7 separate regions of the Homo sapiens genome follow, and regions 1, 2, 4, 5, 6 and 7 are each linked to region 3. The links are contacts of gene promoters, found by promoter capture Hi-C in blood cells and fetal thymus (Javierre and others, 2016). All regions are on one chromosome and are shown on one strand. Each heading gives the region's core, a stretch centred on a gene start or on the middle of the fragment in contact. The rest is flanking DNA. Distances are from core to core; before and after follow the strand shown. Region 1 overlaps AMMECR1 (AMMECR nuclear protein 1). Region 2 overlaps TMEM164 (transmembrane protein 164). Region 3 holds the start of ACSL4 (acyl-CoA synthetase long chain family member 4). Region 4 overlaps AMMECR1 (AMMECR nuclear protein 1). Region 5 overlaps TMEM164 (transmembrane protein 164). Region 6 overlaps AMMECR1 (AMMECR nuclear protein 1). Region 7 overlaps TMEM164 (transmembrane protein 164).

Evidence for each region. Contacts are between HindIII fragments. The CHiCAGO score rates a contact against its expected background, and 5 or more counts as called.
Region 1: a contact is called between a fragment that was not itself captured here and the fragment with the promoter of ACSL4 in region 3, in 1 of 17 cell types (neutrophils). The highest score is 6.0, in neutrophils.
Region 2: a fragment that was not itself captured here is called in contact with the fragment with the promoter of ACSL4 in region 3 in 1 of 17 cell types (M2 macrophages); the score reaches 5.3 in M2 macrophages.
Region 4: a contact is called between a fragment that was not itself captured here and the fragment with the promoter of ACSL4 in region 3, in 2 of 17 cell types (total CD8 T cells and total B cells). The highest score is 8.0, in total CD8 T cells.
Region 5: a fragment that was not itself captured here is called in contact with the fragment with the promoter of ACSL4 in region 3 in 2 of 17 cell types (total B cells and neutrophils); the score reaches 6.1 in total B cells.
Region 6: a contact is called between a fragment that was not itself captured here and the fragment with the promoter of ACSL4 in region 3, in 1 of 17 cell types (non-activated CD4 T cells). The highest score is 6.2, in non-activated CD4 T cells.
Region 7: a contact is called between a fragment that was not itself captured here and the fragment with the promoter of ACSL4 in region 3, in 1 of 17 cell types (neutrophils). The highest score is 5.0, in neutrophils.

What each region holds. Positions count from the first base shown.
Region 1 is chrX:110,192,458-110,195,589 of GRCh38, forward strand. It overlaps AMMECR1 (AMMECR nuclear protein 1), which reads right to left. Exons shown (of 6, transcript NM_015365.3): 6 at 1,729-3,132. Among named protein-coding and RNA genes, the nearest start is that of SNORD96B, 31 kb to the right of the region's middle. The HindIII fragment of the contact is 2,640 bases long and covers 151-2,790 here.
Region 2 is chrX:110,122,015-110,125,342 of GRCh38, forward strand. All of the region lies in intron 4 of TMEM164 (transmembrane protein 164), which reads left to right. Among named protein-coding and RNA genes, the nearest start is that of MIR3978, 42 kb to the left of the region's middle. The HindIII fragment of the contact is 1,234 bases long and covers 1,315-2,548 here.
Region 3 is chrX:109,731,586-109,734,598 of GRCh38, forward strand. It overlaps ACSL4 (acyl-CoA synthetase long chain family member 4), which reads right to left and starts at 1,672. Exons shown (of 16, transcript NM_001318510.2): 1 at 1,554-1,672. LOC105373311 (a long non-coding RNA gene) reads left to right here and starts at 926. Exons shown (of 1, transcript NR_158569.1): 1 at 926-3,013. RefSeq lists enhancers at 1,035-1,084, 1,145-1,284 and silencers at 1,407-1,527, 1,625-1,934. The HindIII fragment of the contact is 5,191 bases long and covers 30-3,013 here.
Region 4 is chrX:110,242,641-110,245,582 of GRCh38, forward strand. The region is part of intron 2 of AMMECR1 (AMMECR nuclear protein 1); the gene reads right to left. Among named protein-coding and RNA genes, the nearest start is that of SNORD96B, 19 kb to the left of the region's middle. RefSeq lists an enhancer at 2,375-2,924. The HindIII fragment of the contact is 1,145 bases long and covers 1,091-2,235 here.
Region 5 is chrX:110,154,961-110,157,866 of GRCh38, forward strand. The region is part of intron 5 of TMEM164 (transmembrane protein 164); the gene reads left to right. Among named protein-coding and RNA genes, the nearest start is that of SNORD96B, 69 kb to the right of the region's middle. The HindIII fragment of the contact is 5,202 bases long and covers 1-2,906 here.
Region 6 is chrX:110,213,074-110,216,277 of GRCh38, forward strand. The region is part of intron 3 of AMMECR1 (AMMECR nuclear protein 1); the gene reads right to left. Among named protein-coding and RNA genes, the nearest start is that of SNORD96B, 10 kb to the right of the region's middle. The HindIII fragment of the contact is 4,263 bases long and covers 1-3,204 here.
Region 7 is chrX:110,050,627-110,053,842 of GRCh38, forward strand. The region is part of intron 2 of TMEM164 (transmembrane protein 164); the gene reads left to right. Among named protein-coding and RNA genes, the nearest start is that of MIR652, 3.1 kb to the right of the region's middle. The HindIII fragment of the contact is 1,130 bases long and covers 881-2,010 here.

The DNA of each region.
Region 1 (3,132 bases), core at 221-2,720, 460 kb after region 3:
TCTTCCAACAAGTTTGAGGTTTGAACACGAGATTGTCCCATGGGGCTACAGGTGTCAAGGCAGGCCTTTTAATGCAGTAGCCAAAAATAGTATATCCAGGGCTTTCCTCACTTGCATCCTCCCATTCATTTCTTCCTCCTGTAGGTGAAAAGCTTGAGCATACAGATGGGAAGCTATGAGAGCTTACCCAACCCAAACCCATACTTATCTTGGCTTATGTGGTTGAAGCTGCAGGAAGTGGGAGAAGCCATTCTCTGAATGGGCAGTCATTCACTGGCTGTCCTGGCTGGCAGCTCTGAATCCCGGTGTGACTTCTCCACCGCAGACTTCTCCTTACCTCACACTGATAGGACCCCTTAGATAGGGTAGTATTTCCCAGCAACAGAGGGGCACTGCTTCATCCTACACGCCCATACTTGCCCTCGGAAGCAGTAAAGCTATTTACACAGGGTCCAGAGGGGCATGAAATCTAAAGTGGAAATGCTGAAACTCTGGGAAGAATTTAGGTAGGTGGAGTGTGATTACTGAAGTTGAAATTTGTCCAGACCAGAGTTAACCACTAATGCTGTAAAAAAGAATGCTGTGGGCTCATTAAACTACTTCATTCTACCTGAACCTATTAATATGGTCGAAATCATTGAAAAATCTTATGTCCCATTAAACATGAATGATGAAAATAGGTAAAACCTGAGCAGATGGCTGCCTTTATGGAGCACTGGTTAAAACCACAATAGTCCTCTAGGATCTAAGAACACTTTTTAGCCACTGTGATTGACATAAGCACGTGTCATAAAATTTACATGGTTACCAGGGCTTTGGGGCAATGTAACAGAAATTGTCCTGGATATATTCAACTAGCAGCTAATCTTGAAATGTGCGTGAGACAGCAAATGTTTTAGAAAGAGCCAGAGGTATTTCCATACACAAGTACAATGTCCTTGGTAGCCTTTCCATAGAGAAAGGGATAAGGCAACAGTAGGCAGAGGCAGCACCCCAAGAGATTCCTTTCTTGACATAGGCTCTTATCTGGCCCTTGAAAGTCAATACCACCAGTTGCCCTACCCTACAATCCAGGTGTTTCCCCCAAGCCCAAGTTGGGGGTACCAATCTGGAACTGGAAAAAATAGCTGGTAATAAGTGTAAGCGTGTGGTATGCCTAGTGTGTGTATGAGTACGTACAAGCTCTGGGTGACCACATCTTGAGCATTTTCAGACTCTGTCCTATACTCAGAAAATGGGCAAGCCTTGATGGTAGGAGAAGGGGTCCCCATATCAGATGATTTAACTGAATAGCACTGCTACTGCCCCTCACCAGCTCACAAAGAGGAAATGCCCAATAACCACTGACTGATTTGGAGCGGACCTAAGCACAGCTAAGCTCCCGCCAGAATTCAAGTCTGATATTTGCCTGAGTTCTGTGGCAAAGGATCTGAAGGATCCTTAAAGGATCAATGTGGCCAGGTTAGGGTGTCCAAATAAAGGCTAATCTATATCAGCAAGCCAGGATTCAGAGATAGACAAAAGGATGACATTGGCAAATCATATGGCAGGGAGTGGCTACAAGCAGGTAAGGTTTCCCAAGTGCTAGTTTGGCAATAAATCAGTATCTGTTCCTAACTATATTCCTTCAGAGCCTTCAACTGTTAACCTTTTAGTAAGAAGTACCGACGAGACCAAGATCCTATGATGAGAGAGGTTAAACTTAAAAAAGAAACATAAAATGATAACTCGGTTTTAACATTTTATTGGGTAAATGATTTTAAAGGTAATAACAATAGTGTCAAAACTACTACAATATCTTTCCACAGCCATACCTTACAGACCCACATAAACCTTCTCATATTTTTTCTTTTTGCTCATATTTAATATTGTAAAGCCATACATGTCATATAAAATGCCCATTTCCAATAGTTTCTTCAAACTATTAAGCAATTAAATGTGGAAGGAAGGAGGGCCTAGTTATACTGGAAGGGGTTTCAGGTAATCTGTGATGTCTTACGGTAATCAAAAAACAGGTTACTAAGAAAGAAGGAAAAGAGGAGCTACTCCAGGTAGCTTTTTGCTCATTACAAGTCTCACCATTGTATCACCAAGAACTCATTATGCTGGTGACAGATTCAAAGTAATTTTGGGGAACATATAAAACACTAAAATAACTTAGAAACTAGATCCAAATATTTCAAAAGTAATCAACTTTGATATACAAAAGTAGTCAGAGGTGGTTACAAAAGTTTGTTTGCTCAGTGCGTCTATGTACCAGCGCAGTTACTGGGTAGAGCAAAATAAAAGGTTCATTTTCTTCTGAAATAGCAATAAAAAACAAGGAAAACATATATTTGTATATAAAGGATCAATGCTGGTCTTAAGAATAATGTCATCAGAAACCCTTAAATCGAGAGGCACACAACGGGTTTCCACTTTTAAAAAATAAAAGGAAAGTCACCAGTTTATTTAAATGGAGGAGGTGCTCACACCCCTCAAATAAACTTAATTCATTTTAACATCACTAGCAAAAATCACTTAGAAACTGTACAAAAATAAAAAAGTTAACACATTTAATCCTGCAAGGTTTTTGTAAGGACTGGAAGGCAGGCTTTTGAAGCAGCATTTGGGCATGGCTGGGGGCTTCTTTGGTTTGATCTAACACACATAAGAGATGGAACCTATTCCAGATGACAGTTTCAAATTTCCTGCACATTTGAAGACAAGATAAGAGGCCAGTATACAAACTTCCGGTGTGCTGGGCACTGGGACTGTATGTGCTGGACTGAAAATCTTACAACTGCTTTAAGCTTTAAGGGTGAGGGGAAGCAAGCCTTGCACTTCCTCCATCAATTTCACTGACCTCTCGTGTTAGGGGAGACTACAGAGGGTAGTAGCACATTCTCGTGCAGTCAGAAGGCCACTTGAGGGGTGGGGGACAATTTGTTCTTTTAGAATCTGGTACCTGGCTGACCTTGTTTAAGAACAAGAAAACCCTTCCAGAAATGGAAGCCTTTTGCTACATACCAAAGCAAAGTACGTACTATTTCCAAGAGGAAAAATACCCAGTTGCATCTGAAAATGGAAAACTTAAATGGAACGAATTAACATTTAAAAGGGGCTATGTAAACTTTGTGCTACTCAAATGAA
Region 2 (3,328 bases), core at 682-3,181, 390 kb after region 3:
TGAGCATTCTTTTGAGCATCTCTTTAATACTCAAATTTGACCCAGCCATCCCGTTACTGGGTATATACCCAAAGGACTCTAAATCATGCTGCTATAAAGACACATGCACATGTATGTTTATTGCGGCACTATTCACAATAGCAAAGACTTGGAACCAACCCAAATGTCCAACAATGATAGACTGGATTAAGAAAATGTGGCACATATACACCATGGAATACTATGCAGCCATAAAAAATGATGAGTTCATGTCCTTTGTAGGGACATGGATGAAGCTGGAAATCATCATTCTCAGTAAACTATCGCAAGAACAAAAAACCAAACACCGCATATTCTCACTCATAGGTGGGAATTGAACAATGAGAACACATGGACACAGGAAGGGGAACATCACACTCTGGGGACTGTTGTGGGGTTGGGGGAGGGGGGAGGGATAGCTTTAGGAGATATACCTAATGCTAAATGACGAGTTAATGGGTGCAGCACACCAGCATGGCACATGTATACATATGTAACCTGCACATTGTGCACATGTACCCTAAAACTTAAAGTATAATAATAATAAAATAAAATAAAATAAAAAAATAAAATATCTGATAAAAAAAGTTTCATATTCAGGAACATTTCAGATTTCGGATTTTTGAATGCTATTTCTCTGATAACTAATGATGTTGAACACTTTTTCATGTACTTACTAGCTATTTGTATGTCTTTTTGGAGAAATATCTTTTCAGATCCTTTCCCAAATTTTAATTGGGTTGTTTTCATTGTTCAGTTATAATTGTTCTTTCTGGATATTAAACCCTTATCTGATATATAATTTGAAGCATTTTCTCCCATTCTGTGGGTTGTCATTGCATTTGCTTGATTGTATCCTTTGAGGCACAAAATATTTTAATTTTGATAAAGTCTAATTTCTCTATTTTTGATTTGGCTGCTTGTGCTTTTGGTATCACATCTAAGAAACTGTTGTCTAGTCCAAGATCATGAAGATATATGACTGTTTTCTTCTAAGAGTTTCATAGTGTTGGCTCTTACATTTAGGTCTATGATCCATTTTGAGTTAATCTTTATGTGTAGTGTGAGGAAGGGGTCCAAATTCATTTTTTTCATGTGGATATCCAGTTGTCCCAGCACCATTTGTTGAAAAGACTCTTCTATCCATCCCCATTGAAATATCTTGGTATCCTTTCTAAAAATCAATGAAAAATAAATGTGAAGGTTTATTTTTAGACCCTCAGTTCTATCTCATTTCTCTATATGTCTATCCATATGCCAGCACCACACTGTCTTGATTGCTGTAGCTTTGTAGAAAGCTTTGAAACTGAGTGTGCATTGTAACAAGATCTTCTGGGGATTAGTGTGTGTGTGTGTGAATGTTGAAAAGGGCTGGAAAGCAAAGTTGAAAGAAAGCAAAATGAGCAATATAGTGTTCAGATGATAAGGCCCAGGGGGATTGACTAGCCTGAGGCCACATAGCCAGTGATTGGCAGATCTTGGTTCAGCACTCAGGTCTTCTGACTTCCACATCAGTGCTCTTTCCACCTCCCCTGTTGCATAAGTACTGAATGAGATGCCTTTGGTTAATGGACACTCTGAGCAAGAGACTTCAGGGTTATTTAAGCAACTGAACTTTGCTCAATCGCCTCATCTGTACAACAGAAATATTACCTCTATCACTGGCTGGGCCTGGTGGCTCACGCCTATAACTGCAACACTTTGGGAGGCTCAGGAGGAAGGATCACTTGAGCCGAAGTGTTGAGACCAGCCTGGGCAACAAAGTGAGACCCTGTCTGTACAAAAAATAAAATAATTAGCCAGCCATGGTGGCATGTGCCTGTAGTCCCAGCTAGTCAGAAGGCCGATGTGGGAGGGTCACTTGAGCCCAGGAATTTGAGACCAGACTGGCCAACATAGTGAGACCGGTCTCTACCAAAATTTTTTTTAAAAAATTAGCCAGGCGTGGCGGTATGTGTCTGTAGTCTCACCTACTTGGGAGGCTGAGGCAGGAGGATCACTTGAGCCTAACAGTTCAAGGTTACCATGAGCCATGATCATGCCATACACTCCAGCGTGGGTGACAGAGTGAGAACCTGTAATAACAAATGGAAGGAAGGAAGGAAGGAAGGAAGGAAGGAAGGAAGGAAGGAAGGAAGGAAGGAAGGCAGGAAGGCAGGCAGGCAGGCAGGCAGGCAGGAAGGCAGGAAGGCAGGCTGGCTGGACGGAAAGAGGGAAGCAGGGAGGGAGGGAGAAAGGTACATCATAGTTATTATGAGGATTCAATGAAATAATCCTTTGTTGGGTGCCAACTGGCAAGATGAATTCAGTTTTCCATTGCATAAAAAGAATCGGGGGGTAGGCAGAGCTCCTCCTGAGGCCCATCTCTTACCTCAACAGGTGGCCTGCCAACCTCCCCTTAGGTCCCACACGCCTAGGACCTTGAGTGGAGTGAACTGAGACTTTAGGGCAAACTGAGGGTTTCTTTAGAAAGTCCAAGGAAAGAGTGATCACTTCTGGGTCCCGGTACTGCATGGGTGCCAGTTGAGGAAGCTTTGGTGGTAGGATCCGGCCAGAGGAGCTAACGCAGGAAAGGAGTTTGGGGTGGAAAAACTTCGTAAGCTAGGAGGTCCTATGATGTAGTGGATAAGAACAGGAGTGTATGTATATAATTTTATATTGTAGAAAATTGAAAGCATACACAAAAGTAGAAAAAATGTTCCCTAATGCATCTGTCACCCAGTTTCAATGATTGTCACCACATAGCCCATCTTTTTCTTTTTAACAATACACCTCACTCCACCACAAATCCATTCCACCCCCAACACAAACACCTATCCCTGGATTATTTGGAAGAAAATCTCATGTAATTTTAACTGTAAGTATTTCATTATGCATGTCTGAAATGTAAGGACACAGTAAAAAATAAACATTACAATACCATTATCATACCTATAATAACTAGCAATAATTCCTTAAAATCATCAAAGATACCTAGTCAGCAGAGCCCAGGCTTTTAATCTAGCCAAATCACTGTTCCAGTCTTCCTTCTACAGCATCAATAGCCTGTCTCAGAGCCTGTTTTACATTGTAAAATGAGGACGGTCATAACAATTCCTGAATCTTTAATAAGGTAATGCATGTAAAGTGCTTACCACAATGCCTGATACAAAGTAGTAAATGCTCAATAAAGGTTAGCTAAGATTATTTATTAATAATAATAGGAAATATTTGAGTTGCTATTAAGGTGCTTTTGAGAATGGCTTTGACTTAGAATCAAGAGGCAGATTTGGAGCCCAGCGAAATGATTGTTGCGGGGAGGAATAACGAC
Region 3 (3,013 bases), core at 422-2,921:
AAAAAAACCCACAAAATTGAATTTACTCAAGCTTTCAATTGCTGTATTACACCTTCCATGGATTTTTAGTTGTCAAATTATTTCTTATAGCAGGACAATAAGGTACTTTATTCTAAGGTACAAGTATACTAACAGTTTAATGTTTCATCCCCCACCTAAATGGCAGAGAGTGTTAATTCTAACAGGAGTCTTACATGTCTTACACTTTAGCAGTTTCAATCAAAAGATGAGCTATTTTACAATTTAAGGAAGAGGCCTTACACTGTTAAAATCTTGACCGATATGCTCAATGGCAGTACCATCATTGAATCTCCACCTGCTGCCTTACGTATCAAGAACATTTAAAAGTCTTTCTTGTTAGAGACAAAATAAAAGAAAAACTAAGGTGACAAGCGACTATGAGAAATAAGGCTTTAATCAGGTTAAATTTGCATTATGCAGCCTGCATGAATTTAGAGGTCCTAGAATCAAAACACTAGAAGGAACCTTTGATATGCTCTAGTTCAACAGACTGATTTTTGCAGAAGAGGAAACTGAAGCGCTGATGAGACCATTAACTGATAAAGCAAACCGCTTACTTTTTCAAAGGGATTCATTTCAATGCCATTTTACCCTTATTTTGCATCTCACTGTTGTTTCTCAGAGCGACGATTGACCTTTTTTTAGGTGAAAAGAGCGAATAGAGCGTATTAATTTCAAGAGGGTGAAAAATGCCTTTGAAGGAGGAGATGCTGGAGTGAAGAGGAGAAATGACGTCTTATTTAAAATATGTAACCCCTTGATGGGGTTAGACAATGAATCATATTCTCCTAGATTTTTCTATGTCTATAGACATCAGCCACAGTTCTTTCAGGCACTCAAACGAGAGGAAGAGGAAGTGAATAAAGCTCATACTAAATATATAGCACCCACTGAAGGCAGGGATGTAGACAGAAAGAACGGGGGTGGGGGAAGGAAGGAAAGCACGCTTCGCCAGGATCCAGCTGTTTTCTAACAAACCTAAGCCTACGGAAGCTAGGAAGATATCGGAAGCAAGGAAGATATCGGAAGCGACGGCATCCCTCAAATTCGAGAGGGCGGATGCCTCTAGGGCTAGAGAGGCTCCCTAGCCCTCAGTTACAGAGCGACTGGGAGGGGACAAAATGGAGTTGAGGTTTAGGGGCACCCTAAAGGTCGTTTGGAGGTCTAGCAAGCACTTCATGGTCTCCTCCGGAAAGGGCCGTGGCAAAGCCTAGTACCCCGATCAGGAAGATGACTTCTGGCCCTCGGGATGCGGTGAGCGGCAGGAAGAGGCAGGCTGGGGTTCCGAGGACCCCAGAGTCCATCACAGGAGCAGATACAGTGACCTCGGGAATCTTCCCGGCCCCAGCGGAGGCGAGCGGATAGATAGCCCTGGCTCAAGGAAAAAAGCGAGCCGACTCCAGGAGCTGGAATGCCCACCCAACCTCCTCCCGGCTCAGGTGAGGTACGCCAGTCCCCCTCTGGAAATGGGGCCCTGGTACCGACAGGGCAGGGGTGCCGGGGCCGCAACCTCCCCATCCAGGGATACTCACCGGAGGGGCGGCCCACCGCGTCTTCGCAGCCGGCCGGCGCCTGGCACTCGGAAAGCTCGCAAAAAGGAACCGCGTGCCCGCTAGCGCTGGGACGAGGAGGAGCGCGCGGCGGAGGCCAGAGAAAAAGCCGCAGCGGCGCGCGCGCACCCGGACAGCCGGCGGAGGCGGGACTCAGCGCGAGCCCGGAAAAGACGCGCCCGGAGGGGCGGGCGGAGCGGGGGCGCGCGGTGGTGTGGCAGAGCCAGCCGAATCGCTGGCTGCAGACGGCTCGGCCCACCCACGCGCCCGCCCCCGCTCGCCCGGGACGTCAGTCGAAAAGGCGGAGCCGAACGGGCTTCCCGGGGCGCGGGAGGGGCGCTGCGAGGAAGGCGAGGCGGCTAACGGCTCGCCTCAAGTTGTTGCTCCCGCTGGCGATCCGCTTCTGTCAGTCTCGCTGCTGGTGTCGTTGAGTGTGTTTCGGGATGTCCTTGCGCCTAACAGCAGTGAGGCGCAGAATTGGCCCACGCCCTCACCTGCGGCTTGCTTCGCAGGACTCCACCCCAGGATAAAAGTTCCCCTCGGGTCATCTTCCAGCTGCCCTCAAAAGACACTCATTTTTGGGTTTCACTGCTCCTCTTTAAGAGAGCTATCTTGAACACTTTGACTAAAAGCATCTTGCTCCTGTAAGCCTGAACTAATGCCTCTCATCCGTTTATCTTGCCTCTTACTGCGTTAAGATCCCCGCTCACTCCCACTGATGAAATATCACAAGGACGCAGGATTTTCACGTTGTCTTTCATTTCCACGATGGTATCATGGCAAAAAAACCCCCAACTGATAAGGAAAAGTCACCGCAGCTTTGTGACATCTTACTAGCCCTGATCATTGCTTATAAGCCGGTCATACGAATGCTGTTCCAACAGATGCAAGAAATTGCTATTAAAATTAAAATGCCAGCGAACTATCTGAGGGCTTCAAAAGGGACAGACCATAATTGCAAATGAGGCCTGATAAACTGCCAAGAATATATCACCCAAAAAAATAAATCTCAAGAATTCTTCCAGTTCCCTGATGCGTAATGGTGAACTAGCTTCCTGTTCCTGATGGTAATTGACATTTCACTTCACTTGCTGATTTCCATTTTCCCATAGAATTACCATTTGTGCTTGTGTGTGTGTATATATATATGTATATATAAAATGCCTTACCACCTGAGATTACAAGCTAGAGTAGTTCTTCAGTGTGCATCACAATTATCTGGGGTGCTTGTTGAAATGTAGGTACCTGGAGCTACAACCCCCAGGTATTTTGATTCTGATCTGGGTAGGGATAAGAAATTTGAATTTTTAATAAGCAGCCCAGGTGACACTAAAAGTGGTTAGCTGAGAGCACAGAGCTATAGTTTTTGTGTTACTACTCTAAAGCCATATTACCAATTCAATTTCCAAGAAACCCACCCACTTACATATAATATACCTATA
Region 4 (2,942 bases), core at 413-2,912, 510 kb after region 3:
TTTTGCTTTTTAAATTATGGCTTGACTTGGGCAAATATTTAAGGTAATCAGCAAACATAGGGCACAAACCAACTGCTGGGGCAGAGGGAGGCAGCTCTGAGTTATTCCAGTTAGGTAACATTTTTCTATAGAATATTATACAAGTTATAATCCATACTGGGATAAAACTAAGCATTGACTACTAATTTTCTAAATAAATACTAAGAAATAAATGTAGTCATAAAACAATTTGGACACTTGTCTGAAATTGTTTCACTACTCAATGCTAGGCTATTACAGTATATTAGCATTAAAATACATGTTTACAATTGTTATTTGAAATGGTTCTTTCTAATAATGTGTACAATAGCAACCGCCCTGTCATTTTCACTGAATTTCAGAGCTTCTCTTCCTTTCAGAAAATACAAGTCAACGTCTGTACCAAAGGAACCATCTAAATTGTTTTGTGGTACTAGCTATTCATTTTCACTGCATTATATGAATGTTGCTCAAAACTGAGTGATCCCAGAAGATAGCTGGAAATGTTAATTCCTTTGTTAATGTAAATTACTACAATGAGAACTGGACTCTGCCTCCAGGAAACCTTCCAGCCACCTAGCTTTGAGAGTCTGGGCAAGTCAAAGAAGCCAAGGTGTCACAGGGCATTCCTACACACATTGCAGAGGACCCTTTGGATACAGTTACACCAACCTAAGAGTTTCATAGTTAGGACATCACTCAGCTACAATATAAAAACAACTCTTGTAAATTGGAATCATATTCCCAAACATCTGGAAAATTCCCCAAAGGAGAAAAGATTACCCAAAAGTATTGCTAAATAGATGGAAGATGCTGATTTTTATCATAATCAAAATTCAGTCAGTTTCCATTGTACTAGACAAATCAACAGATGTGTTGTTTACCTTTAAAGATGCCTGGAATCTATTTTAATTCAGCCTTGAAACCCAGACATTCTTAGGTAATAAGAACAGATATTTAAATTCCATAACAACCGCCCAATGTTTACAAACATTTATTTCTTTATAGATTTCTTATCCACAAAATGTATTTTTGGTTAGAAAGAAGTTTGAGGATTCAGCTGTATTTTCTAAGCTTTGCTTTGTGGCATGGCCTAAGAGAAAATAATGATATCAAGGGTCTTTTCCAACTATTTTATTTATTTTAATTTTAAATAAAATATTTAATAAGATACAATGTATAATAATGTATTACTCTATTTCACTCTCACTACCATATCCTGAAAGCAAACAATTTTCAATAAATTCTTAATTTTAAAAAATCTTCAACATTCAAATTCAGAAAAAGATAATCTAGGATTAATTAAAAATTACTTTCACATTAAAAATGACTCTTTAACAAACAATGTGTCAAATGTGCTTCTTGTCTTGTGTTGCCTATCACCTTTCATCTTATCATCCTCCCCCTGCCCCATCATCTAAGAAGGAACCTTTGAAGCCATCTTCAACTCTTCCCTTTAGCTTACTTTCCACAAGTCTCATCTTGTTCAATTACTACCTTGTCTCTGTTATATGTTTCTTTACATCCCTCCTGTTACTAACCTAATTCAGGCCTCTACCATCTTTCATTTGGAATATTTAAGATTAGCTTCATAACTGCTTCTCTAATCTCTATCCTTTCCATTCCATCCTATATATTAATACAAGCAGCCCGAGTCAGGGTAATAGTAATAGTCAGGGATGTAACTTGGGCTGCTTGTATATATTTCTCTTCTCATATATATTTCTCTGTCTCCTTACATTTGGCTCAGGAAGTTTTCTGGATGCATAATGAATATCTTCTCCATATCCCCACTTTTGAATGTTGAAATTGAGTCGTATATGTCCATAGAGGTTCGGCTTACATGTCAGCTAGTCAGTAAAACCTTCCCCAATCTATCCAACTAGAGCTAATTTCTCCCACTTCCAGTAGCATTGTTTCTACATCTAATGCAGTTATTTTGTGTACATGCCAATTTCCCTCAAAAGACATCACTCAGCTCTTGAGCACAGACATCATGTACTGTTGATCTTTGTAGCTGCATAGTACCTAGTACAGTACCATGGTCAGAGTTAAGTGCTCGATAAATGTGGAATTGAACTGACTAAACCTTATGTCAGCCTGATATAAATGAGAAGGAAGACTGTCAGGATTTATAATAAGTTATGTATTTAACTACAGCTGTGTTGTTATAATTGCTACATATTTAGAGAAAACACTGAATGTATCTTTCAATCAAGCTTTGAAACTATAGTGACTATTCTAAGTTTGAATTATCTTATATAGAACAGCAAGAACACTCAAATCTGTAGGACATAATGCCAGTGAAAAAAGACCTTTTACAGTAGATTCAGCTGTACAAGTTCAACCAATAAACCACAAAGGCCATATTTTTTTAAAAAGCCAGAATATAAAGAGGGCAATAGTAAGCATATTAATGAAAACCAGCTAGGAGACACTGGATAGAGCTCACTACTTCTGAATCAGTCACTGCTCCTTGCTGCAGCTGGATTTGGATCTTCTCCCACTGAAGGGCTGAGTAGATGTGATCCCACTTAATTTCTAAGTCTGACAAAATCACAACTTGGAAGTGGCCTGACTACTGGCAATTGTTAAGCACAGTAAATCCCTTCTCCTTCTGTAACCCCCTCAAATGTCCTGCATTCACAACTCTTTTATACCAGATGTTTTGTTGAAATTAACACATTCCTATCAAATGCATATCAAAAGGACTTTTCTCCCTACTGCAATGGAGCTTTATTATATTGAGCATTCCATTTAACCTCCAAACTGTTTATTTGTTACATAGACACTTATTGTATAGTATTTATTGCAGGGGGAATGACAAGGGAAGCTGGGCTCAGCATAAGGTGGGATCCATTCAGGAGCAAATATTCCCACAGTTAATGATAGCAAACAAAAGCCCTTAGAAGACACATCTCAAA
Region 5 (2,906 bases), core at 85-2,584, 420 kb after region 3:
CATGAAGAGTATACAGAACAATGACTGGCACATAGTAAATACTATGTATTGGGTTTGTATAATTATTAATTACCCACTGTTCTGCCTTGTGTTAATTATTCATCTTTCTTCCAACTAGACTGCCGTCTCTAGAGGTCAGGATTGTGCCTTGCTGTGTTCTAAAGCCGCAGAACCTTGCATGAACTGAGAGCATGCTTGTCAGTGGATGTAACATTACTGGTCCTCCCTCCTTTGAGACACTTGTTTCTCCTTTGAGCTCCAGGGTACCTCTTTCTCCTGGTTCTCCTACTTCTCTGGTTCTTTCTCCTTGGGCTCTTTTGCTCTGCCTGCCCCATAGATCCTGGTGTTCTTCATCAATAGAGATAACACAGGCTTGAGAAGCAGTACAGGTACTTCAAAAATAACAATTAGACTCCTCATTTCTGTACCCCTTCTCTCATCCTGCTTGTCTTCCTCCTCTGTTTCCTGTCTTGGTTAGTGGCTCTACTCTCCATCCACTACCAAAGCAAAAAATGTAGGCAACATCCTAGATCTCTTCCTCTGCGTCTTCCCATTTACCAATCAGTTCAGAAGTTCTGACAGTTTAAATTCTCAAAATTGTTTGCAAATTTGGCCCTTCCTCCTCATCCTCACCACCCCTGTCCGACTGTGGGCTCTCAGCCTCTGTTACCAGGACTACTTTGCTTCCTCTCTCCTCTCCCTGCCCCCTGATTTCCCCTACCTCCTACCCAGGCTATCCTCTATACAGTCTCCAGAGTGACCATTTTAAGGAAAGAGGAAATCTGATCTGATTTTGCTCAGCTGCTTAAAAATCCCATCCAGGATGAAGACCAAACTTCTTTGCATAGCATTCAAGACCATTCACAGTCTGATTCTTGTCCATCTCTTTGGCCTCATTTCTCATTGCTTAGACTCCGATTCTATCACTTTACCTTCTGGTTTTTATTTGTTTTGTTTTTTTAGAGATGGGGTCTTACTATGTTGTCCAGGCTGGAGGGCAGTAATGCAATCATAGCTCACTGCAGCCTGGATCTCCTGGGCTCAAGTGATCCTCCTGCCTCTGCTTCCCAAGCAGCTGAGACTGCAGGTACATACCACTGTGCCCAGCTCATTACTTTACTTTCTGAATAAACTTATCTGCTGACAGGTTTGCCCAGCCTTCCTTGCTTTGTGTCCAGGCTCATACTATCTATTCTACTTGAAACCTGGCAAACTTCGTGTGTTCCTTTGCAAGTTAGCTCAAGGGTACTACCTCCTCTCTGGAGGTGTCTCTGACTTTCCTAGGCAGCCAAGGGCATGTATTCCTTAATGTGCCTTTCTCCTTGTACTTTTATTATACTTTATTATAATATGCAGTAACCACCATTTCTAGTTGTCTGTATTTTGCCACTAGGTGGCAGTAGTCACATCTTTTCGGGAGATTAAGATAATTAATATTGGATATTGATTTATTTTATTTATTAAAGATGTTGATTAATAATTGTTGTAATTGAGGTGCTATGGGAATAAGGATGCGGGTAAAATCCGTGAGGCCCCTGAATTTTGGCCTGAGTGACTGGGTGGGATAGAGTATCATTAACTGAGAAGAGGGCGCAGAAGGAAGGAGCATGTTTTAGAGAGTGTCTTAGTCTTTTTGGCCTGCTACAACAAAAATGCTATCAACTGAGTAGCTTATAAACAATATAAATGTATTTCTCGCAGTTCTGGAGGCTGGGAAGTCCAGATCAAGGTACCAGAAGATTCAGTGTCTGGTAAGGGCCTGTTCCTCCTAGATGGGGTCTTCTCACTGTGTTCTCACACGTGGAAGGGGCAAGCAGGCTTCCTTGGGCATCTTTTATAAGGGCACTAATCTCATTCATGAGGGATCCACCCTCATGACCTAATCAGCTCCTAAAGGCTCCACCGCTTAATACCATCACATTGACCATTAGGTTTCAACATGAATCTGAGGAGAGGAACATAAACATTCAGACCATAGCAGCGAGGAAGATGATTTTACTTGAGTTTGAGGTGCTTATAGGCTATCTAGGTTGAGATGCCCAGGAAGCATTAGGATAAAATATTCTGGAGCTGTTCAGGGGAATCTGGACTAGACACTGACTTTAGTATCAGTGGTTATAGAACTAGTAGATGAAAACATTGGAATGAATGAGCTGGTCCAGGGTAACTATGTAGGTAGGGATAAAATAGGACTTAGAGAAAGCCTTGGGGAACATCAACTTGCAAACAGTAGACAGAAGAAGAAGAGTGTAAGGAGATTGCAGGAAAGATCAGTGATAGAAGGAGAGGCTGGTTGTCCTGAAAACTAAGGCAGTAGAAATTTTTCCCAAAGTGGTATTAGCCAAGCCATGTTGGATCTAAGAGGTACAGTAAAATCAGGTCCTCAGAGAAGTGGGAATTACAGGGAAGAAGTTAAGGGCATTAAGGAAGGAGGGGTTAAGGGTGTTACAGAGCCAAGGGAGGGTGTTTCTCCTCCTCCTTTCTCCCCCTCCCTTTCTCTCCTTTTCACCTCCTTTTCCCTTTCTCTCTGCCCCAGGGCTGAGCATGTTCAAATGCTAAACTGAAGCCCAGTAGAGCCAGGGAACATTGAAGGTACCAGAGAGAAAGGGGAGTGGATGAATTACAAGTTGATGACAACTGCTGAGAATGACAGGGGTTTGGTGGTGGATTGAGAAGGGTAATGACAAGAGAAATAAGTGCTGTGGGAAATGGAAGAAGGAGATAAGCCTAGACTCTCTCAACACTGTCCAATAGAATTCTCTGTGATGATGAATATATCCTATATCTGTTCTATTCCACATGGTAGCCACTAGCTACATTTGGCTTTTGAACAGTTGAAATGTGCCTGGGGGGACTGAAGAGTTGGATTTCTCATTCGATTTTAAGGTTAATTAATTTGAATTGAA
Region 6 (3,204 bases), core at 305-2,804, 480 kb after region 3:
TGTATAAAGTTTATTTTCCATTTTTATTGTAGTAAAATACACATAAAATTTGCCATTTTAACAATTTTAAAGTGTACAATTCAGTGGTATTAAATACATTCACAATATTGTACAACCACCACCACTATCTGGTTCCAGAACTTTCTCACCACTCCAAATGGCAACCCTGTACCATTAAGTAGTCACTTCCCATTTACCCCTCCCCCTAGCCCCTAGCAACTATTAATCTGCTTTCTATCTCTATGGATTTGCTCATTCTGGATATCTCACATAAATGGAGTCATACGGAATGTGGCTTTCTGTGTTTCACTTCTTTCACTTAGCATAATGTATTCATGGTTCATTCATGTTGTAGCATGTATTTCACTTCTTTTTATGGCTGAGTAATGTTCAATTGTATGAATATAACATATTCTATTTATCCATTCATCTGTTGATAAACATTTGGGATGTTTCCACCTTCTGGCTATTGTGAACAGTGCTGTTATGAACATTCATGCACAAGTTTTTGTTTCAACACTTCAATTCTTTTGGGTATATACCTAGAAGTGAAATTGTGTCAACGTATAATTTTTTAATGCCTTTAATTCCATTTTGGCATTCTGTGTTTAGTAATGCTTTTTCAGAATCATTAAGGATAACCCTTAGAATATCATTCCCACAATACTATTACTCCATTTTCAATCACTGAGTAAGGTACATATTTTTTTAAGACCAAATCACATTCTTGTACTTAAAAATATAATTTCCACCCTTATTCGTTGTATACAAATTTCTCTTCTGCCAAATACCTGAAACAATGATGAACTAACTGAAAAGGATGGGCTTTTCCTCTTAGCATAGCCATTCTAACAGTAACTAATTCACTTTCAAATACTTGTATATTAAAAGTAAAAAAAAAAAATGGGGGCCAGGCACGGTGGCTCACGCCTGTAATCCCAGCACTTTGGGAGGCCGAGGTGGGTGGATCACGAGGTCAGGAGATCGAGACCATCCTGGATAACACGGTGAAACCCCATCTCTACTAAAAATACAAAAAATTAGCCAGTCATAGTGGTGGGCGCCTGTAGTCCCAGCTACTCAGGAGGCTGAGGCAGGAGAATGGCGTGAACCCAGGAGGCGGAGCTTGCAGTGTACTGAGATCACGCCACTGCAGTCCAGCCTGGGCGACTGAGCGAGACTCTGTCTCGAAAAAAAAAAAAAGTGTATTTTTTGCTTCAATAGGGAACTAATACTTAATAGAAATTAATATTTAAGCCCCCTAAAATATATTAAATACACAATACCAAGTAGGAACAATATAGAATCTTCTGGAAATTCAGGCTGGCAGATGGTGACCAAAGAGGATAAATATGCCTTGAAAGAGTATATAGTGGAGTACACAGTACTACTTCTTAAGGGCTTTACATCCCACTCTCCTAACAAACAGAAAGCTGATGTATCTTTTGGACATAATAGTCCAATAATATCAAGGTTAATTTTAGCTGTAGATAGTGCTTTAACTGGGCTAAAGATGATGATGATGTACTCGGTGCTTAACCATGCCTATGTAACAGCTGTTGTATTCTCCCCTTTTTCCTTCCCCCAAAACACATGCACACACATTTATGTAATACTAGTATGTTCATGTTTGTGACACACACACATGCACACACACAGAAACACACATGCCAGAACTGTACTTCCAACTCAGTAGCTGCAAGAGTAGAAGTGTTCTTGTAGCTTGGTCATCCCCCTTGGATCTCAGGCTTTTCCCATATAATCACTCCCATCCCCACTACTACATACACAACACCCTGCAATCCAGAAAGCAAAAGTAAATCTGGCTGCGGAAGAGGAAACAGCAGCCTTAAAACAGTAAAAGAACCACCCAGACTATAATATATGTTAATAAGTAGGGAACATGATTTGGGGCTGTTTAAAAATAAAGTACTAAGGAATATTTCCATAATATTTGTAGACTTTTCTTTAAGAAAAATCAAGTAAGAACAACAAACTTATAGCAAATAATAAATCAGAAATTTCAAGTTTACAAAAGGTTTTCTACATTCCAACTTTGGTAGGAACAACAGTATAAATTTATTTTATTTCTTCCTTTGCAAAAATCCTAAGATGTGTTCATATTCTGATAATGCTCCAGAAAATCTTAGCACAAAACCCAGAGGGGACTCTAGCATTGTACTCTCTGTAGAAAAGTTTTTTTTCACCCCACCCCCTAAAACTTTTTAAATAGCTCTGGTATAACAACAATAATTTATATCATAGAGTTTTTTTTCAAATGAAGAACCTTATAAATGTCTTATTCTGTATATTGGAAAACTGAATTGCAGTGGAGTAAGTAAATTGTTCAAAGTCTCACAAGGAATCAGGGCAAAGCCAAAATTAAATTCAAGTCTAATAAACTGTGAAGACAGTGATCTGTCTCCAAGGCAGAATAGTTCAGTTACTATGGGGGATGGTCCTTCTAAAACAGCAGAAGAATTAAAATCTGTCATAAGGATACAATAATGCCATTTATGAGTGTATGTGTGAGAGAGAATGTTATGTTTATCACTGAGTTCCCATTGTTTCATTCTCATAGCACTTATTTCTTCATACTTTCTATACACATTTACTCGCCACTAAATTATGACATGCTTCATGGTGGGAACCAAATCTTACCACTTTTATACATGGAGCACATTGCCTGGAATAAAACAGGCATTCAGTAATATGGGCATGCTTGTGTGTAAAATTTCATAGACCCAATAGACCTACACTCAACATCTCCTCCCAGCCACCAAAGCAAATCATGGTGAGAACCTTTGAACTTCACTAACAATGTTAGCCAACCCCATGTACTAAAGAAGAATAAAAATATGATCAATATAAGCTACTCTAACAATAGCAATGCACAGAGATACCCTAGAAATAACCTTAGTATTATTTGTTAGAGTGTTTAAGTGTATAAACTAAGGTAGCCAAGAATGAATTCACATTATTTAACTCTAGTTAATCAATACCTTGTTGTTATCACAAGCTGATTCCCCCAAATGGTGTATTATCCTAAATATTTCTTCTTGTTTCTGAGATGTATCCTCTGACCAACTAGTTACTTAGTGGCGGTTATACCAGAGTGCACCAGAATGAAAGTAAGAGGAGAAATAAATTCCAGTCAGTCCTTCTTATTACTTATTAACAGCTTTTATGAGGTGCTTTGGTGAG
Region 7 (3,216 bases), core at 196-2,695, 320 kb after region 3:
TCAGAGCACATACGGAGGAAGAACCCTTTTTGAAAATCCAAGCACATGAGGAATTCATGTTTCATTGTCATCCTGCTTTGCAATTGGGTCAGGTACATATGTGGGGAGGAGAGAGTGGGCTTGGAAGAAAAAAAATTGGTTTGTTACCTCCACAAAAGCAGACATTCTGATTTTCCCCCAGAAGTTCCATTAAGAAGAAAGCAAGTTTTTAAGGGTTTAATTGCTAATTCAGGGTTGCTTTCAGCCATTAGGGCATCTGTATCAAGGCGCCTAGTTTGGGAGGTGGAACAGAAGTTTGACGTGCTAACATTTGGGAACTTTCTCAGACAGGATGTCTTTGTTATCTAATTTCTTTCCATTTTTCAGTACCTGCTTTCAGATTTCTACTTTTTCTCTTCTGCTTCCTTTGGTTTCAAATCACAGAAGACCTATCTCTTTGTGCTCCCAGCTTGTTGTCTTGGTTACAGGCTTCTTCAGCTTGCCTTCCTTTGAGGGGAATATACAGTGTAAAGAAGATTTTTTAAAATGGTGACTAAGGTCCCTTTCTCTAAGGTTACTGGGATATTAAGCAGTGGGTAGAACAGTGACTTGTAAACCCGGCTGTACATTGAAATCAGCTGGAGCACTTTAAAATACTGATGCCCAGGCCCCAGGCCCAACCAGTTGAGTAGGCATCTTGAGGAGTAGGCCCCAGGAATTTTTTTTTCTTTTATGAAACAATAAACTGCCTACGTGAGTCTAATGTGCATTCAGTATTTAGAACTGCTGGGTTTTACAGCAAAGCCAAACAACTTGGTTCTGGCTGTTTGAGCCAGGTGAAGGAAATAGAATCAACTTTTCTGTACCTTAGTTTTACCTGCCTAGAACAGAGAAGCACTAAAGCTTAAGAATTTAAAGAGGCTTACTGTGACCCCCCTGTCATTATTGTTGCATACAAAAGAGAGGTAACTTTCTTTCAAAAAAAAAAAAAGAAAGAAAGAAAGAAAGAAAGAAAGAAAATCCAGTTATTCAGCTGGCTTGGCTTCTGGGCTGTAACAGTGGCTTGAGGATTAAAAGAAATCTTTCCAGTTGCTTGAAGAAGGGTTATCTGTATGGAGGAACAGCAGCTTCATTCCCAGTGTGGTTTGGACAGCGCATTCCAGGTTTTCAAACCTGCCTCAGCTTCCAGCTGACTCCCTTCTCATGCCCCAGGTGGTTAGCAGAGTTAGGCACCATACTTATATTTTTAGTGAAATTGCCTTTTAATAGTATTTTCCTAACATAAAAGCAACAGATGTTCATGATTCAAGCCCGGAACATTATAGGAATATGACACATAGCAAACAAAAGTCCCCTAGAAGTCGGTCTCCCAGACATATCCATTGTAAGCATGTTTTTCCTTCTGATTTTTATCTCTGCATATGCTAAACATTTTATATTTTTATTCTAAAAATGGGATCATTCAACAATGTTTGTATTTTTTTTTCCTTAATATCTTAGCCATCAGTCCATGTTAGTACATATAAATCAACCTCATTCTTAAGGACCCCTGATTCTTAGGATTTTAGTCACACAAGGGCACAATCTCCTTCCGCTTCCCTCCAAGATTTTGCTTTCCTATGGAAAGGCTTGGGTTTTGTTTGTTTCTTTGGGCTTCAAATAGAGCAAATCCATTATATCTGGTATATTTATGTTTGGTTGTTATTTAAAAATTCATACAATTTTAAAGGAATAGAATAGCATATATGATTCCCTCCAACCTCTGACCCCTGATCCACTAGTTCTTCTCCCCAGAAACAAACTGCCATTACCAGATTCTTGGAAATCCTGAGAATTACTGCATGCATAAACAAGGCTTGAATATTCTAAAATGGCTTTTGCTTAGGTAACCAAGTCTATCCATATTGTATGGAGACATCTTGTTTCATTTATTCATTCAGCAAGTACCTGATGAGCATCTCATATGTTCCAGGCACTGTGTTAAGTTCTGGACCTACAGTGAGGACCATCACACAGCTCCTGCTCTCCAGAAGCTTATGGTCAGCAGGGAAGATCAACATTTAATGAAAACATAGCTAAATATAAATGAGAAATGGTGATATGTGTTGTGAAGGAAAAGAACAGCATTTACATGCATCTGTTTTTTTTTTTTTTTTTTTTTTTGAGACGGAGTCTTGCTCTGTCGCATAGGCTGGAGTGCAGTGGCGCCATCTTGGCTGACTGCACCTTCCGCCTTCCAGGTTCAAGCGATTCTCCTGCCTCAGCCTCCCGAGTAGGTGGGGCTACAGGCATGCACCACCATGCCCAGCTAATTTTTTTGTATTTTTAGTAGAGACGGGGTTTCACCATGTTGGCCAGGATGGTCTTGATCTTTTCACCTCATGATCTGCCCACCTTGGCCTCCCAAAGTGCTGGGATTACAGGCGTGAGCCACCATGCCTGGCCTACATGCATCATTTTTTAAAACAGTGATTAATGGAGTCCCCTTTCCCAATTTTTTAATACAAAGGTGTGGATGGGAGATTTGCAGCAAAGATAGGAAAGCAAAGATATAACCCACAATCTTTACTCTTGCCAACAGCTCTTACCTTCTTTCCCACCAAAATTTTCCTTTGATAAAATGTCTTGCTGAGAGTTAGGCTAACTCACCAACCAGCTTTAATTTTGGTTGACAGGGTGCCGTAGAAGACCTTTGCTAGCCAGACTGTGAGCTTCTTGCAGACAGGAATTATGTCCTGCATCACTGTGTGCTCAGAACCTCAGGAAGAACAAACTGATGTAGGCACCAGGAAATAGGTGCTTTTATTACATTCTCATTTTATGCCTTAGAAGCACTGCAAATGGTAGGTATTCTTATTTCTGTTTTAAACAATGAGAAAACTGAGGCTTAAGGAGGTGTAAAAAATACTTTCTTTTAAAAAAAATACACCTCTCCCCCACCATCATAAAAACCCCAACTTTGGCCATAGAGTTCATTGGTGGTGGAGCACTGCAAACATTAGCTGTCCCATGTGGCTTTGACTCTGACACAATTGGTCCTCTTGCTTCAGGGAACTGGATACCATCCATCCCTCCCATGGGTTGGCCTAGGCTCTGTTACTTCAGAGTTTTCTTGACGAGTTTCAAGGTAACCAGGTCATCCTGTTCTACATATTTTTCTGGGATTGAGGTCAAGGAGCAGCATGATCCTCTCTTAAATGGGTCAGAGGAGGAGGACTCCTGTGGCTCCCTGAAAGG